Regions from separate parts of the Homo sapiens genome. Here all the other regions are linked to region 1. Evidence: promoter capture Hi-C in human tissues and cell types (Jung and others, 2019). All regions are on one chromosome and are shown on one strand. Each heading gives the region's core, a stretch centred on a gene start or on the middle of the fragment in contact. The rest is flanking DNA. Distances are from core to core; before and after follow the strand shown. Region 1 holds the start of L1TD1 (LINE1 type transposase domain containing 1). Region 2 overlaps USP1 (ubiquitin specific peptidase 1). Region 3 holds the start of LOC105378768 (a long non-coding RNA gene). Region 4 has its middle 56 kb from the start of KANK4. Region 5 has its middle 35 kb from the start of KANK4.

Region 1 (2,888 bases), core at 389-2,888:
CTAATTTGTTAGTACTGCAAAGGCAGTCTAAATCCCCAGGGTTTGTTTCGGGAAAGGGCTGTTATCATCTTTGTTTTAAACTATGAACAAGTGATCCTCCCACCTCAGCCTCCCAAAGTGCTGGGATTTTAGGCAGTAAGAAGAAATAAGGGATTAAAAGCAAAAGACCGAATTCTCTTTGTTTATTCATATGCTGTGTATTGACTGAACTACCAGATATTGAGGCTTCTTTGCTTATTAGCTGCATGACTTTGGGCAAGTCAAGTTCCACCTGAGCCTTGCAAGTCAGGCCTGGGGAGTCCAACCACCCAGAACCTTTGAGTCTCTGTTAGAGAGCAAGACCCTCTCTTAAGAAACAAAAATAAAACAAAAAAAGAGTATTGGGATATGGGGAGTTTGGCTCCTGTAGAAAGGGTAGTCTGGGAGGCCTGTTAGAGGAGTTAACATTGGACCTGAGACCTGAGGATGAACAGAAGCCATCCTGAAAGAACTGGGAAAATAAAGAGGTGGCCAGGCGTGGTGGCGCACGCCTGTAATCCCATCACTTTGGGAAGCTGAGGTGGGCGGATCACCAGGTCAGAAGTTCAAGACCAGCCTGACCAACATGGTGAAACCCCCCTCTACTAAAAATACAAAAACTAGCCAGGCGTGGTGGCATGGGCCTGTAATCTCAGCTACTCAGGAGGCTGAGGCAGGAGAAATCGCTTGAATCCAGGAGGCAGAGGTTGCAGTGAGCCGAGATTGCGCCACTGCACTCCAGCCTGGGTGACATAAGAAAACTCTGTCTCAAAAAGAAAAAAAAAAAATACAAAAATTTTCCGGGAGTGGTGGCGTGCTCCTGTAATCCCAGCTACTTGGGAGGCTAAGGCAGGAGAATTGCTTGAACCCAGGAGGCCGGGGTTGCAGTGAGCCAAGATCATGCCACTGCACTCCAGCTGTGGCAACAGAGACTGTCTCAAAAAAAAAAAAAAAGAAAGAAAGAAAGAAAGAAAAAGAAAAAAATAACTCGCAGAGGAAACAGCCAGTGCAAGGGCCCTGAGGCAGGTAGTTCCGTGTTTTTTGAGGAACAGAAAGAGAGTGTTTCTGTTGTAAGAGTAGTGCTAAGACAATGTTGAAGGGGCAGTCCGGATAGAATGAGAAGGTAGAAATTTAACCGAAACAGGAAGCCACTGAACAGTATTGGAGGGGGAGAAGGATTACAGAGGGGTCGTGGGAGAGGCCAGGGAGCAGTTGGAGGTGATTTCAGTGATCCAGGTGAGAGACAACGGGGGCTTGGACTGGGCTGGAGCTGTGGAGTTGGAGAGACGCCGGCAAATTCAAGGACTTAGGAATGGATTAACTGCGAGGGTTGAAGAAAAGGAATGAGGTGACCTTGGGGTTCAGGCCTGGGTGATGAGGCGCTTTAGTGGTGCCTTTATTCAGATTTGAGTCTGGAGTCGGGTCTGAGGGGTGGGGCTCGTTCAAGCGGAGGCACGGTGGAGACAGAGGGAATTGGACTCAGTCGGGGGGCAGCAATGGAAGTCAGCAATTGCTTAGGGCGGAATGCGATTTCCGGGGAGGAGGCGCGGGTATGTAGACAGAGGGGGTTGGGACACACCAGGAGGGGAGGAGCCAGCCCCAGAGATCGGGAATCCTCTCAGTCCTTAGTTACAAGGCTCCATCCTCACTTTGTTCGCTCCTCAGTCGTCCAGGCGGATTCCTTTTTCGCCAGGTAAGGCTGGCCCGGGTGCATGGGGCCCGGCGTGCCCTGGGTAAGGCTGGCCCAGGCGCGTGGGGTCCGGGGCGCGCCGGGTAAGGCTGGGCCAGGCGCGTGGGGTCCGGGGTGCCCCGGGTAAGGCTGGTCCAGGGGCGTGGGGTCCGGGGTGCCCCGGGTAAGGCTGGTCTAGGCGCGTGGGGTCCGCAGCGCCCCAAGTAAGGCTGGTCCAGGAGCGTGAGGTCCAGGGTGCCCCGGATAAGGCTGGTCCAGGCGCGAAGGGCGCGGGGTGCCCCGGGTAAGGCTGGCCCAGGTACGTGAGGCCCGAGGTGCCCCAGGCAAGGCTGATCCGGGTGCGTGCGTGGGGCCCGGGTAGGGGCAGGCAGTTGGCCCCCTCACTTGACTCCCTGCTCTTTCCCTTACTGTCCGTGGCGCAATGAGAAAAAAACTCTCCTAAGACTTATCTATCCCCAAATTGGAAACATGAAAGTAGTTCTGTGAAGAAAAAATAAAGTCAAGAAAATGAGGTGGTGCTTGACAAGTCCTAGCTTTAGAAAAAGGATGGAGGGGCCGGGAGCAGTGGCTCACGCCTGTAATCCCAGCACTTTGGGAAGCCGAGGCGGGCGGATCACCTGAGGTCGGAGTTCGAGACCATCCTGACCAACATGGAGAAACCTCGTCTCTACTAAAAATACAAAATTAGCCAGGCGTGGTGGCGCATGCCTGTAATCCTAGCTACTCAGGAGGCTGAGGCAGGAGAATCGCTTGAACCCGAGAGGCAGAGGTTGCACTGAGACGAGATCGCGCCATTGCGCTCCAGACTGGGCAACAGGGGCGAAACTGTCTCAAATAAAAAAAGATGGAGGGCCGGGCGTGTTATTTTCCAGCACTTTGGGAGGCCGAGGCGGGGGCGGATCACGAGGTCAGGAGATCGAGACCATCCTGGCCAACTTGGGAAACCCCGTCTCTACCAAAAATACAAAATTAGCCGGGTGTGTTGGCTCGCGCCTGTAGTCCCAGCTACTAGGGAGGCCGAGGCAGGAGAATCGCTTGAACCGGGGAGGCGGAGGTTGCAGTGAGCCGAGATCGGGCCACTACACTCCAGCCTGGGCGGCAGAGCGAAACTCCGTCTCAAAAAAAAAAAAAAGTGTTTAATTATGTGACTGGAAAAATTGATTTGGAAGTAATAACTTTT
Region 2 (2,888 bases), core at 218-2,717, 250 kb after region 1:
TCTTTCTGAGTTTAAATTTGATTATTTGTAGTGCAAAACATCTGTGTAGGGGTAAAAGGTTTTATATATATATATATATATATTTGTTTGGTTCAGAAGACTTGACAGTTATAAGACATTTTAAACTCTAGTCATGTAACTAGTCATACCTGTTGGAGGCATATGATTGCAAATTATAAAAATAAACTTTAAGTAATGCTTTTGATGCAAATAAATTATTTAGCTACAGAAAATAAATCAGAACAAAGTGGAATACTTTATTCCACCACCAGCAGCTCTAGCTGGAGTCTGTACTACTCCCTGTTTAACATATAGGCACTCTGCTGGGTGACTAAGGTGGATTTGGTCCCATGTGTTAATTTCCTAATAGCTATCAATAACCAGTTGAGGAGATTTGTGAGAGTGAAGCTTTTGTTTATCAGCATTCATACTTCTGAATACTTTGAGGTGCTAGAGTAATAATAGCTAGCAATCGTAAAATAAATGAAAATATTGGAAGGACCTAGTGGTTTTTTTGTTGTTGTTGTTAAAGAAGTAAAAGAATAGTAAACTTAAAGCATTTGTGTTTTGAGATGGGGTCTCCTTGTGTTGCCCAGGCTGGTCTTGAATTCCTGGGCTCGAGCAGTCCTCCCAAGTAGCTGGAATTACATGTCAATGCCCCCACACCCACATTCTGAACATTTTATTTTTAAGTGAGGGATAGCTACATATTTTTTTTTTTTTTACCAGCAGGAAGTCATATATAATTCTCTTCACAGACTTTCTTTCCTCTGAATTCTTATTAATAGAATCTTACTTAGTGCAGCCTCTCCCAAATATTGTCATGGTTAGTTTATTCCCAGGTTTCTGTTCAGTTAAACTATTTGATTAAAATGTCAAAGTAGATGAAACAAATCATAGTCTCTCAGTTCCTCAATTTTCTACTCTGTAAAATAGGATTAACATCCTTTTAAGGGAATTGTTCTGTGGCTTGTTATGTGTAATAATGTTTTTAAATGCTTTTAAAACTTTTATTCTGGGCATATAGCAATTTTTGAGCCTGTATTTCTTAAAATGTCATCTGAACAAGATTCACATACTTTTCAGATTATACAACTTTTGGGAAAAGACTAAATCTACAGAAGTAATATTTTCACCTTGTTTCTTTAAGATAACTACTTATCGTTCTCCCTTCTATATTTCATAGTGATCAAGTTGTTCCTGCAGCACAGTCTTCACCTATAAACTGTGAGAAGAGAGAAAACTTGTTACCATTTGTGGGACTGAATAATCTCGGCAATACTTGCTATCTTAATAGTATACTTCAGGTAAATTGACAATTTTGCTATATCATAAAGCTTTAGTAGGCAAAGATTGATGTAGCATTTAATGTTTTTGAGTTATTGGAGGACTTTAATGTCCATACTGTCTTTGCCTTTGATTGTTAATAAACCAGAATAGGCTAAAATAATAAGTTACATGTTATTAAACTTCCTTTGGGGTAAGAGAAAATGATAGACTAAATAAAGGTGGGATAGCAAAATTGAGTAGACCTTAAGTGGAAGGTCAAACCTTTAATTTCTTTCTCTGATTCCTGGTGCTACAGTGTGATATATGTCTTATCCCTTGGAAGTAACGTTGGCATTGTGTTGTGTGTCCGTTGGCGCTGTGTTGTGTGTCCTTGTAACCTTAAAGTCTTAGCAATATCTGCCCAGGTGCAGTGCTTTGTGCTAATGAGGGAAGACACTGGGCTACTACTGATGAAGTGGAGAACAAATTTTGACACAAAACTTAATCTCAGAATTTTAGGGTAATACATGTTAAAAGTGCTCTATAGAAAGCATGATGTTGTTTTAATGATTTTACGTGTATTGTTTGTTCAGTAAACACTTAAGACAATCTCACTTTTTATAGGTATTATATTTTTGTCCCGGTTTTAAATCTGGAGTAAAGCACTTATTTAATATTATTTCAAGGAAGAAAGAAGCTCTAAAGGATGAAGCCAATCAAAAAGACAAGGTAAGAAAAATAAAGAACAGAAAATAATGTAAAAAGCAAAAGTAAATTAATGGAAATTTACTTGCCTGGAAATGAAGAGGACTGGGGGGGTGGATGACAAAGATTATTTCTCTGTTAGCGAGCTATTGTCAGGCAATTATTTTTCATTCTTTCAAGGTGGCTAACTAGATAATTCCCTTTTACAATGTTTGCTCCTGTAATCTGTGTATCAAACTTTTGTTACTTGTATACTATATATTACTGTATACTATAATCACAATATGTTATACCCATGTACAACTTATTTACCCATTGTGTTTTCAAATTGAGTTAAAATTTAAATACAGTGTATTTAAAGAAATCTTTAACTTCCATAATTAAAAAACCATTGTAATTCACATAAATAGTAATTCATAATTCCTCTTAAAATTACAAAAAAGACCAGACGTGGTGGCTCATGCCTGTAATCCCAGCAGTTTGGGAGGTCAAGGTGGGTGGTGGATTGCTTGAGCGCAAGAGTTTGAGACCAGCCTGGGTAACATGGCAAGACCCTGTCTTTACTAAAAATACAAAAACTAGTAGGGCGTCATGGTGTGAGCCTGTAGTTCCAGCTAATTGGGAGGCTGAGGTGGAGGATTGCTTGAGCCCAGGAGGTTGAGGCTCCAGTGAGCCGCGATCAAGCCACTGCACTCCAGCCTGGGCGACAGAGACCCTGTCTCAAAATAAAAAAATAAAAAATAAGGCTTATTTGTACATCCCTTAAAATTAGTGCTATTATGCAACTTAGAAAATCTAGTATTCTTAAGTGAGACAAAGACAAAGGGGGAAGGTACTTAATTTGTTCATAAAATTATTGGTTTGTGTGTTTCTTTCTTGACAGGGAAATTGCAAAGAAGATTCTTTGGCAAGTT
Region 3 (2,888 bases), core at 146-2,645, 230 kb after region 1:
GAGCATGACCTAAAAGCCATGTAATTTGTGCAAATGTTTCACAAACTAATTGAGTTTTTGAGAGGTATTTGGATGTCTCAAGATCTCAAAAAGTGATTGGTGAGAAGGTTCCTTCCAAGCAGCCAAATAAAATCCTTATGAAGACATAAATCTTCCATTGATAAAAGGTATGAAACCAAATTATTGTAAAACATCTGTTTGAAAGAATAAATACTGATAATCATGTTTTACATGCAGACCTAAATATATAACTTTTATTGGTATTGTGATAAATCAATAAAGCGAAGATATTATTATGAGTTAAATTGTTTTAACTAATTATTTATCCAGCATACTCAGCATACTCTTACAGAAGAAAAAAATTAACTTACCTGCTCCAAAAAAAAGTGAAAGCATACAGACAGAAAAATTATATTACAGTGTAATAATAAGATGCTTTTACATGGTCCTGTCCACACACATACCTACATATATGATAACACATACACAGTTTCTCCATGCCTAACTCTTCAGTGGGGAAAAAAAGGTGTGAATTTGAATCTTGATACCCAAAGACCAGTTTCTGAATTGAGCATAGGGAGCGATGCCACTCCTTTTCCTTTTATGATAGAAAGAGAAAAATCATATATAGGTTCTGTTTTTGTCTTTGATGCAAATTTTATAATTCCAAGTCTTAGAATTTGTATATTGTGTTTAAATTCAAAGGTAATAAAATATATGGCTGAGTGCAGGGGCTCACACCTGTAATCCCACTGCTTTGGGAGACGAAGGTGGAGGATCATTTGGGGCTGGGAGCTTGATATGAGCCTGGGCAACATAGCAAGACCCCATTTCTACAAAAAAATAAATAAATTAGCCTGGTGTTGTGGTGGACACTTGTAGTCCTAGCTACTTAGGGGGCTGAGGTGGAAGGAGTGCTTCAACTTAGGAGTTTGAAGTTAGTGAGCTATAATGGTACCACTGCACTCCAGCCTGGATGACAGAATGAGACCCTGTCTCTAAAAAAAATAATAATAATAAAGTAAAATAAAATAAAATATATGCTATAACAAATGTAGGAAAATTAACATTTCTTATTGTGGAGATTGTTAGCATTAATGCTAATAAGTTAAAAAGAAAATATATTGGTAAAATTAAGCTTTTCTTTCTTCTTCTTTTTTTGAGATGGAGCCTCTTTCTGTCGCCCAGGCTGGAGTGCAGTGGCATAATCTCGGCTCACTGCAACCTCTGCCTCCCAGGTTCAGGCGATCCTCCTGCCTCAGCCTCCAGAGTAGCTGGGACTACAGGCGCGCACCACCATGCCTGGCTAATTTTTGTATTTTTAGTAGAGATGGGGTTTCACCATATTGGCCAGGCCGGTCTCAAACTCCTGACCTTGTGATCCGCCCACCTCGGCCTCCCAAAGTGCTGGGATTACAGGTGTGAGCCTCCCTGCCCGGCTGGTAAAATTAAGTTTTAAAAATGAACTTTAGGCTGGGTGCAGTGGCTCATGCCTGTAATCCCAGCACTTTGGGAAGCCGAGGAGGGTGGATCACGAGGTCAGGAGTTCGAGACTGGTCTGGCCAATATGGAGAAACCCTGTCTCTAATAAAAATATAAAAATTAGCTGGGTGTGGTGGCACAAGCCTGTAGTCCCAGCTACTCGGGAGGCTGAGGCAGGAGAATTGCTTGAACCTGGGAGGCGGAGGTTGCAGTGAGCCAAGATCGTGTCACTGCACTCCAGCCTGGGCGACAGAGCGAGACTCTGTCTCAAAAAAATAAAAAAATAAAAGTGAACGTTAATATTTTAAATGTGATTTTATGGTTCACATCATCAGGGAAGATGTAGACCTACAAAACATAAAATTGGGAATACAAACATGGTTTATTGTATTCCTTGAAAAGATTCAGATATTTTTCCTAAAGTAGCTAAAATATTTAGTGGCTAATTGAATAATGTTTAAATGTAAGGAATTACATGTACACATGGGATTACATTTGAAATGCAATTCACATACCACTCTCTTATAAATTGGTTCTGAATCACAGATGAAATGTTAAAATATAAACATACAAGGCAGCTGGGTGCGGTGGCTCACGCCTGTAATCCCAGTATTTTGGGAGGCCGAGGCAGGCGGATCACCTGAGGTCAGGAGTTCGAGACCAGCCTGGCCAACACGGTGGAAGCCCGTCTCTACTAAAGACACAAAAATTAGCTGGGCATGGTGGTGGGCGCCTGTAGTCCCAGCTGCTCAGGAGGCTCAGGCAGGAGAATCGCTTGAAGCTGGGATGTGGAGGTTGCAGTGAGCCGAGATTGCACCATTGCACTCCAGCCTGGGGAACAAGAGCGAGACTCTGTCTCAAAAAAAATATATAGCATTTTGCTTAATTTTACTGGGTAGTTTTTAAACTGTGATTTTTTTTCTATGATAATTCTTAATTTTAATATAAATTTTATCATATTTTAATAGTAAATTGCTTTAAAAGTTTCTTAATTTGGCTTTGGGGCTGTAGGTGAAGTAAATACATAAATTTATTCAAAGACTTAAAGGAAATAAATTAGAGTGCAACACTGAATTGCTTTGGTAAAAGATAAAAACAACACTAGGAGGTACATATTTGTATGCAAAAACTATAGTTAAGAGAATATTTAGACCAAATTTCATAAAATTCTATATAAATAGTAGGTCACTGAGCTCAGGAGTTCAAGACCAGCTTAAGTAACATGGTGAAACCCCATTTCTGCAAAAAATAGAAAAATTAGTTGGGCGTGGTGGCATAGGCCGGTTGTCTCAGCTACACGGGAGGCTGAGGCAGAAGGATTGCTTGAGCCTGGGAGGTAGAGGTTGCAGTGAGCCGAAATTGCGCCACCGCACTCCAGGGTGGGCTACAGAGCAAAATCCTGTCTC
Region 4 (2,888 bases), core at 164-2,663, 180 kb after region 1:
TGAGCCAAGATCACACCATTGCAATCCAGCCTGGGCAACAAGAGCAAAACTCTGTCTCAACAACAACAAAAAAATAATTCTGAGGTCTGACATATGCTATGCCAAGATGAATTTATAGTAGCTCCATTCTATTTCACTTAACTTTTTTTTTTAAATAGAGATGAGGTCTTGATATGTTGCTCAGGCTGGTCTTGAACTCCTGCGCTCAAGTGATCCTACTGCCTCGGCCTCCCAAAGTGCTGGGATTACAGGTGTGAGCCACCATGCCTGGCCTATTCTGCTTCATTTATATATTTCTATATATCTAACCTATAATAGACTATCTTAATGAATCAAGCTTTGTGTCCCTCTTGTGTAACTGACAATGGCATAGGTCAGAGTAGATTTTTGTTTAATATCTATTGTATTTGCTGAATAGTTTTGTATTATCTATTTTGTCTTCGTTTTTTATTTTAAAAGTAAATTTGAGACCATTCTCCACTAAAAGGAGCTAGGGCTCCTGAGAGAATGGCTGATTCCAGGACTGTGCAGAGAAGATTGAGTTTCAGCCTGGATCACCTTCTTATCTCAGGGAGAAAGGGAATGCTCAAAAACAACAGCACGTGTCAAAAGAGCCTGAGGGCCAGCCTAATCTGGGAGAATATGTATATCAAATAAGTAATGATATTAACAGATTATAATTCCAATGACTGAAATAATCATTCAAGTTCATGCTAATATAAAGAAATACATTAACAAGTAAATAGGAGAAAAAGAGAACAGCTTTCCTAGAAGGGAATGCCAACTAAGAAATGCAGAATGAATGATAGAGTAGACATTCACTAACTGGCAAGTATCATAGTAATAATTTAAGCAAGAATTATCAATGGATGCGAAAGTTATGGGTGAAAATTTGATAAGGAACAGGATATTTGCATGATCTCAAAGTATTTCCTCACAAAATACTTACTAATTATAAAGAAGAAAATTGTAGCTTTACAGTGGAGAAATCTGGGAGACACCAGCTTGTCCCAGTGATCCAGGTTAGTATCACCAGCAATGGAACAGACTAACATATGTGACTTTTTTTTTTTTTTTTTTTTTTGAGACAGGGGTGGTTCAATCACAGCTTACTGCAGCCTCCACCTCCTGGGATCAGATGATTCTTCCACCGTAGCCTTCTGAGTAGCTGGGACTACAGGTGCGTGCCACCACACCTGGCTAACTTTTGTATTTTTTTGTAGAGACAGGGTTTCACCGTGTTGCCCAGGCTAGTCTCAAACTCCTGAACTCAAGCCATTCACCCACCTTAGTCTCCCAAATTTCTGGGATTACAGGCGTGAGCCACTGCACCCAGCCCATACGTGACTCTTGATATGGTGCAATGCAAAACACACAGCATCACTTTCCTGGTAATCCTGCCAAAGACACAAAATCTGAACTTAATCACAAAGGAACATCAAATATACCTGAATTGAAAGACATCCTACAAAATAATTGGCCTCTACTTTTCAAAAATGTCAAGGTCATGGAGGACTAAGAAAGACTGAAGAACCATTACGGATTGAAGAAGACTAAAGAGATTACATGCTGATTAAGAGCAATAATTTTAAATAATATTTTAAATAATTTTAAAATATCTAATCCAGGATTACATGTTGCATTTAATCAACATGTAATATTTAAAAATTATTTTTCTATTACTGTGTAGATATTATTAAGGTAACTAGCAAATGTTGAATGAGGTCTATGGATTAGATAATAATATTGCCTTGCTATTAATCTCCTGATTTTGACATCTGTTTGGTGGTTATGTAAGAGAAGGTCTTTGTTCTTAGGAATTACATACTGAAATATTGAGGAGTAAAAGAGCATATGCCTGCAACTTACTCTCATACATATAAAAGCAAATGTGGCAAATGTTAAACTTTGGGGAATTCGAACAAAGAGTATCCAGTAGTTCTTGGTATAACTTTTAAAACTTTTTTCTAAGTTTGAAATTATTTCAAAATAAAAAATTATTTACAAAAATAGTGCATTTTCTTTCCTACCATAATATCTATATTTTAAATGTGAGCCTTAGCTTTTTTTTTTTTTTAAATCACTCTTTGGGACCTCAATAGTGTTTATTCAATGTATATTTTTGGCATCTAAGTGCTAGAGTCTAGGGATGTAGAGGTGAACTAGAAAAAATTTAGCCTTGTCCACATGAAGTTTATAATCTAGTGGGGAAATCAACTATTGCACAAATAATTATGTAAGTGTAGTGATTATGTGATTCATTTCTGCAGCAACATATACACTTCACAAAGTCTTGCATATGGGCAAACATTATTATATTCCTTCCTTATGAAAATATGAACTCGATCTCACCTTTTTTTTTTTCTGAAGGTCCTCTCTGTCTCACAATGACACTACAACCCCAGGAAGCCATTAAGAGTCCACCCAACTGATTCCTTCTTTCACTGTGTGTTTCTGTTGGAGGGATGAGCATTAAAGAGGGAAACGGTGGTGGTTGTTCTTTTGAAAGCTAAAAAACTTTCCATCTTGAAAAGCGTTAAAGTCTGCTGCAGAAGCAGGGCACTTTTTCAAACCTCCTGTTCATTACAGAGATACACATCTAAGGAACTTTGGGCCATGTTGTGGGGTGACTTTTGAAATTCAAACAAAAGAGAGTTTGTTACAGAGCTCGAAAAGGCAGTTCTGAAAGCTTCATTAATTCTAATAATAACTTCCAATTAATTCATTCGTCACATCCTGATTTTCTGAAATCATTCATTTTCTAAGAGGCTACCTTTAAGTGAAATTAAGAATGCTATGATTTTAATTGATCCAACCTAAGCTAACCATTTAGCCATTTATTAAAATGTAAAACAGAAGCCTGGGCCCAGGTCTGAGATGAGCAATTT
Region 5 (2,888 bases), core at 279-2,778, 160 kb after region 1:
CATTTGTGCTGGTCTTTGGGTCTGCTGGCGTGGGCAGAGGAGAGGGGGAAGGATGGGAGTCAAGAGGCTAAAAGGAGGAAAGGCAGGAAAGGGAAGCTTGTTTGGAGAATGGCAGGGTGACCACCTGACCGGAATTTCAGGGGCTTGGGGGACGGTGGCAATGGGAGTGACAGGAGGAGTACACGAGGTGACTCTGGAGGGGCCAGCAGGCAAGCGGGGAGCCCTGAAAAGTTTTCAAGCAGGAAAGTGGAAGGATCACAACTGTCCTTTAGAAAGATGACAGTGCCAGGTGAAGAGACAATGAATTGGAGGGAAGAGAGGCTGTAGGGAGGGAAAACACTTTCCCTAAATCAGGCAAAAGACTGTGGCAAGGGCAGAGATGGTGGAATGGGGGGGAAAGGGATGGAGCCGAGAGCCGTTTCTGATAACAGGGTTTGTGAACACTGTCCCCCATTTTCCCGTGCACACATCCTCCTGAGTGAAGTTTCAAGTTTGGATGACAAAATAGATGTTGATGCCATTCCTTAAGAGAGGGGACTCAGGAAGTACTAAGTTAAGGGCCAAAAGGACGAATTCCATTTTGGACATTCTCACAGGACAACTGGGAAGATGCCCAGTTTCAGCTGGAAATACAGATCTGAAGCTGAGGAGAGTGGAGTTGAGAGTCCTCAGGGTGTAGGCAGTAATGGGGGCCATGGGGATGGACAAGCAACTCCAGGATAATTGGGGACTGCAGGGTGGCCCACACTGAGCAGTTACAAACTAGCACCTGTTGCAGTGGATAAGACAAAATGTCCGAATATGTGACAGAAATAGTAAGTTATGTTGTCAGGAAGACGAGGGATGACAAACAGCTGGAATTGCTAAAAAAAAAAAAAAAAAAAAAATTCTTCCTGGAGAAGGTGGCTTGAAGAGAAATAGCAGGATGCACAGGATTAGGAGGCAGGAAGGAGGGAGGGGAGGATTTTGGATGGGTTTTGCTGGTGGCGGAGCAGGGAGCGTGGCCACAGGGCACTGAGGGTGCATGCTGCAAAAATACAGCCCCAGGATGGCGCAGCTAGAGAAAGAAACAAGGAATTGATTCAGAATCCACTTTGAGGAAACTGGTCTCCATGGTTGCCTCTGGGGAGAGGAAATGGGAGTCCAGAGGGTAGGCTGAGAAGGAGACATCTCTCTATATCCTTTTGCAACTTCTGGGTATTTTTACCTTGTACACCAATTACCTTTTTTCAGGTTTAAATAAATGGTTTGGGCCTGATGCTGTGGCTTACGCCTGTAATCCCAGCACTTTGGGAGGTGGAGATGGAAAGATATCTTGAGACCAGGAGTTCAAGCCTAGCCTGGGCAACATAGCAAGACCCCATCTCAATTATACTAAAAAATAATAATCATCGTTAAAAAAAAAACAAAACTTTTGGTTTTGGCAGACCAAGCGGTGAGTCTGGTGCCAGAGGAAATCAGGTAGATCCCAAGAGTAAAGGTCAGATTCCTGGCCTTCCTTTCAGGCATGAGAGCAGGACCAGTCTCTGACTGAGGGACCAGCGTTAGTGGCTGTAGCTCTGAGTAATCCTCAAATGGCTTTTTTTTTTTTTTTTTTTTTTTTGAGACGGAGTTTCACTCTTGTTTCCCAGGCTGGAGTGCAATGGCGTGATCTTGGCTCACTGCAACCTCTGCCTCCCAGGGTCAAGCGATTCTCCTGCCTCAACCTCCTGAGTAACTGGGATTACAGGCATGTGCCACCACGCCCGGCTAATTTTACACTTTTAGTAGAGACGGGGCTTCTCCATGTTGGTCAGACTGGTCTCAAACTCACGACTTCAGGTGATCCTCCCGCCTCGGCCTCCCAAAGTGCTGGGATTATAGACGTGGAGTCACCGCGCCCGGCCCAGACAGCTCTTTTACATGAATTTGGTTGAGTAAGTGAATGAGCAATCCAGAGAGCAGATGAGGACAGAATGAGAAGTGGCTGGACACTGGAGCTGGCCAGCTTCCAGGGACATAGAAGTATGCCCCCGAGGTGGACTGATGAGCCAGTGCTGGATCCTAATCTTATGACTTGTGTGACTGGGGCCAGGTGATGTTGCAGGAACAGTGCTGAAACCTCATGTTTTACTGTATTAGTCCATTCTCACATTGCTATAAATAAATACCTGAGACTGGGTAATTCATAAGAAAAGAGGATTAATTGGCTGACAGTTCTTCAGGCTGTACAGGAGGCATAGCAGCATCTGCTATTGGGGAGGCCTCAAGAAGCTTCCAATAACGGGGGAAGGTAAAGGGGTAGCAGGCATATCACATGGTGAAAGCAAGAGCAAGACAGAGCCACAGGGAAGGTGCTATCAGATCTCACAAGAACTCACTCACTATCACAAGGACCACACCCAGGGGATGGTACTAAAACATTCATGTGAAACCTGCCCCCATTATCCAATCACCTCTCACCAGGCCCCACCTCCAACATCAGGGATTACATTTCGATATGAGATTTGGGCGGGGACACATATCCAAACTATATCACTTAGATAGAGTTGTTGTGAGAGTTAAATGAGATCAACATCATGACCATCAAACATTTCTGATGACTTACTATGTGCCTGGCATTGAGCTAATTACTCACATAGTTTAATCCTCACAAAAATCCTATGAGACGATTGCCATTATTATCCCCGTTTTACAAATATAGGAAATAAGGGCCAGGCGAAGTGGCTCACGCCTGTAATCCCAGCACTTTGGGAGGCCGAGGCAGGGAGATCATCTGAGGTCAGGAGTTTGAGACCAGCCTGGCCAACATGGCAAAACCTCGTCTTTACTAAAAATACAAAAAGTAGCCGGGTATGGTACTGGTGTGCCTGTAATCCCAGCTACTTGGGAGGCTGAGATAGGTGAAT

The links. Contacts are between HindIII fragments. The study calls those that stand out against the background at their distance.
Region 2: a contact is called between a fragment that was not itself captured here and the fragment with the promoter of L1TD1 in region 1, in 1 of the 25 tissues and cell types used here (aorta).
Region 3: a contact is called between a fragment that was not itself captured here and the fragment with the promoter of L1TD1 in region 1, in 1 of the 25 tissues and cell types used here (bladder).
Region 4: a fragment that was not itself captured here is called in contact with the fragment with the promoter of L1TD1 in region 1 in 1 of the 25 tissues and cell types used here (liver).
Region 5: a fragment that was not itself captured here is called in contact with the fragment with the promoter of L1TD1 in region 1 in 4 of the 25 tissues and cell types used here (dorsolateral prefrontal cortex, mesendoderm cells, pancreas and 1 more).

The regions. Positions count from the first base shown.
Region 1 is chr1:62,193,211-62,196,098 of GRCh38, forward strand. L1TD1 (LINE1 type transposase domain containing 1) reads left to right here and starts at 1,639. Exons shown (of 4, transcript NM_019079.5): 1 at 1,639-1,711. RefSeq lists enhancers at 782-1,638, 1,639-2,494. The HindIII fragment of the contact is 18,338 bases long and covers 1-2,888 here.
Region 2 is chr1:62,440,302-62,443,189 of GRCh38, forward strand. It overlaps USP1 (ubiquitin specific peptidase 1), which reads left to right. Exons shown (of 9, transcript NM_003368.5): 3 at 1,187-1,307; 4 at 1,894-1,998; 5 at 2,858-2,888. Among named protein-coding and RNA genes, the nearest start is that of USP1, 4.7 kb to the left of the region's middle. The HindIII fragment of the contact is 4,518 bases long and covers 1-2,888 here.
Region 3 is chr1:62,420,948-62,423,835 of GRCh38, forward strand. LOC105378768 (a long non-coding RNA gene) reads left to right here and starts at 2,869. Exons shown (of 3, transcript XR_007066146.1): 1 at 2,869-2,888. The HindIII fragment of the contact is 9,030 bases long and covers 1-2,888 here.
Region 4 is chr1:62,374,227-62,377,114 of GRCh38, forward strand. No RefSeq gene overlaps it. Among named protein-coding and RNA genes, the nearest start is that of KANK4, 56 kb to the left of the region's middle. The HindIII fragment of the contact is 3,050 bases long and covers 1-2,888 here.
Region 5 is chr1:62,353,312-62,356,199 of GRCh38, forward strand. No RefSeq gene overlaps it. Among named protein-coding and RNA genes, the nearest start is that of KANK4, 35 kb to the left of the region's middle. The HindIII fragment of the contact is 4,856 bases long and covers 1-2,888 here.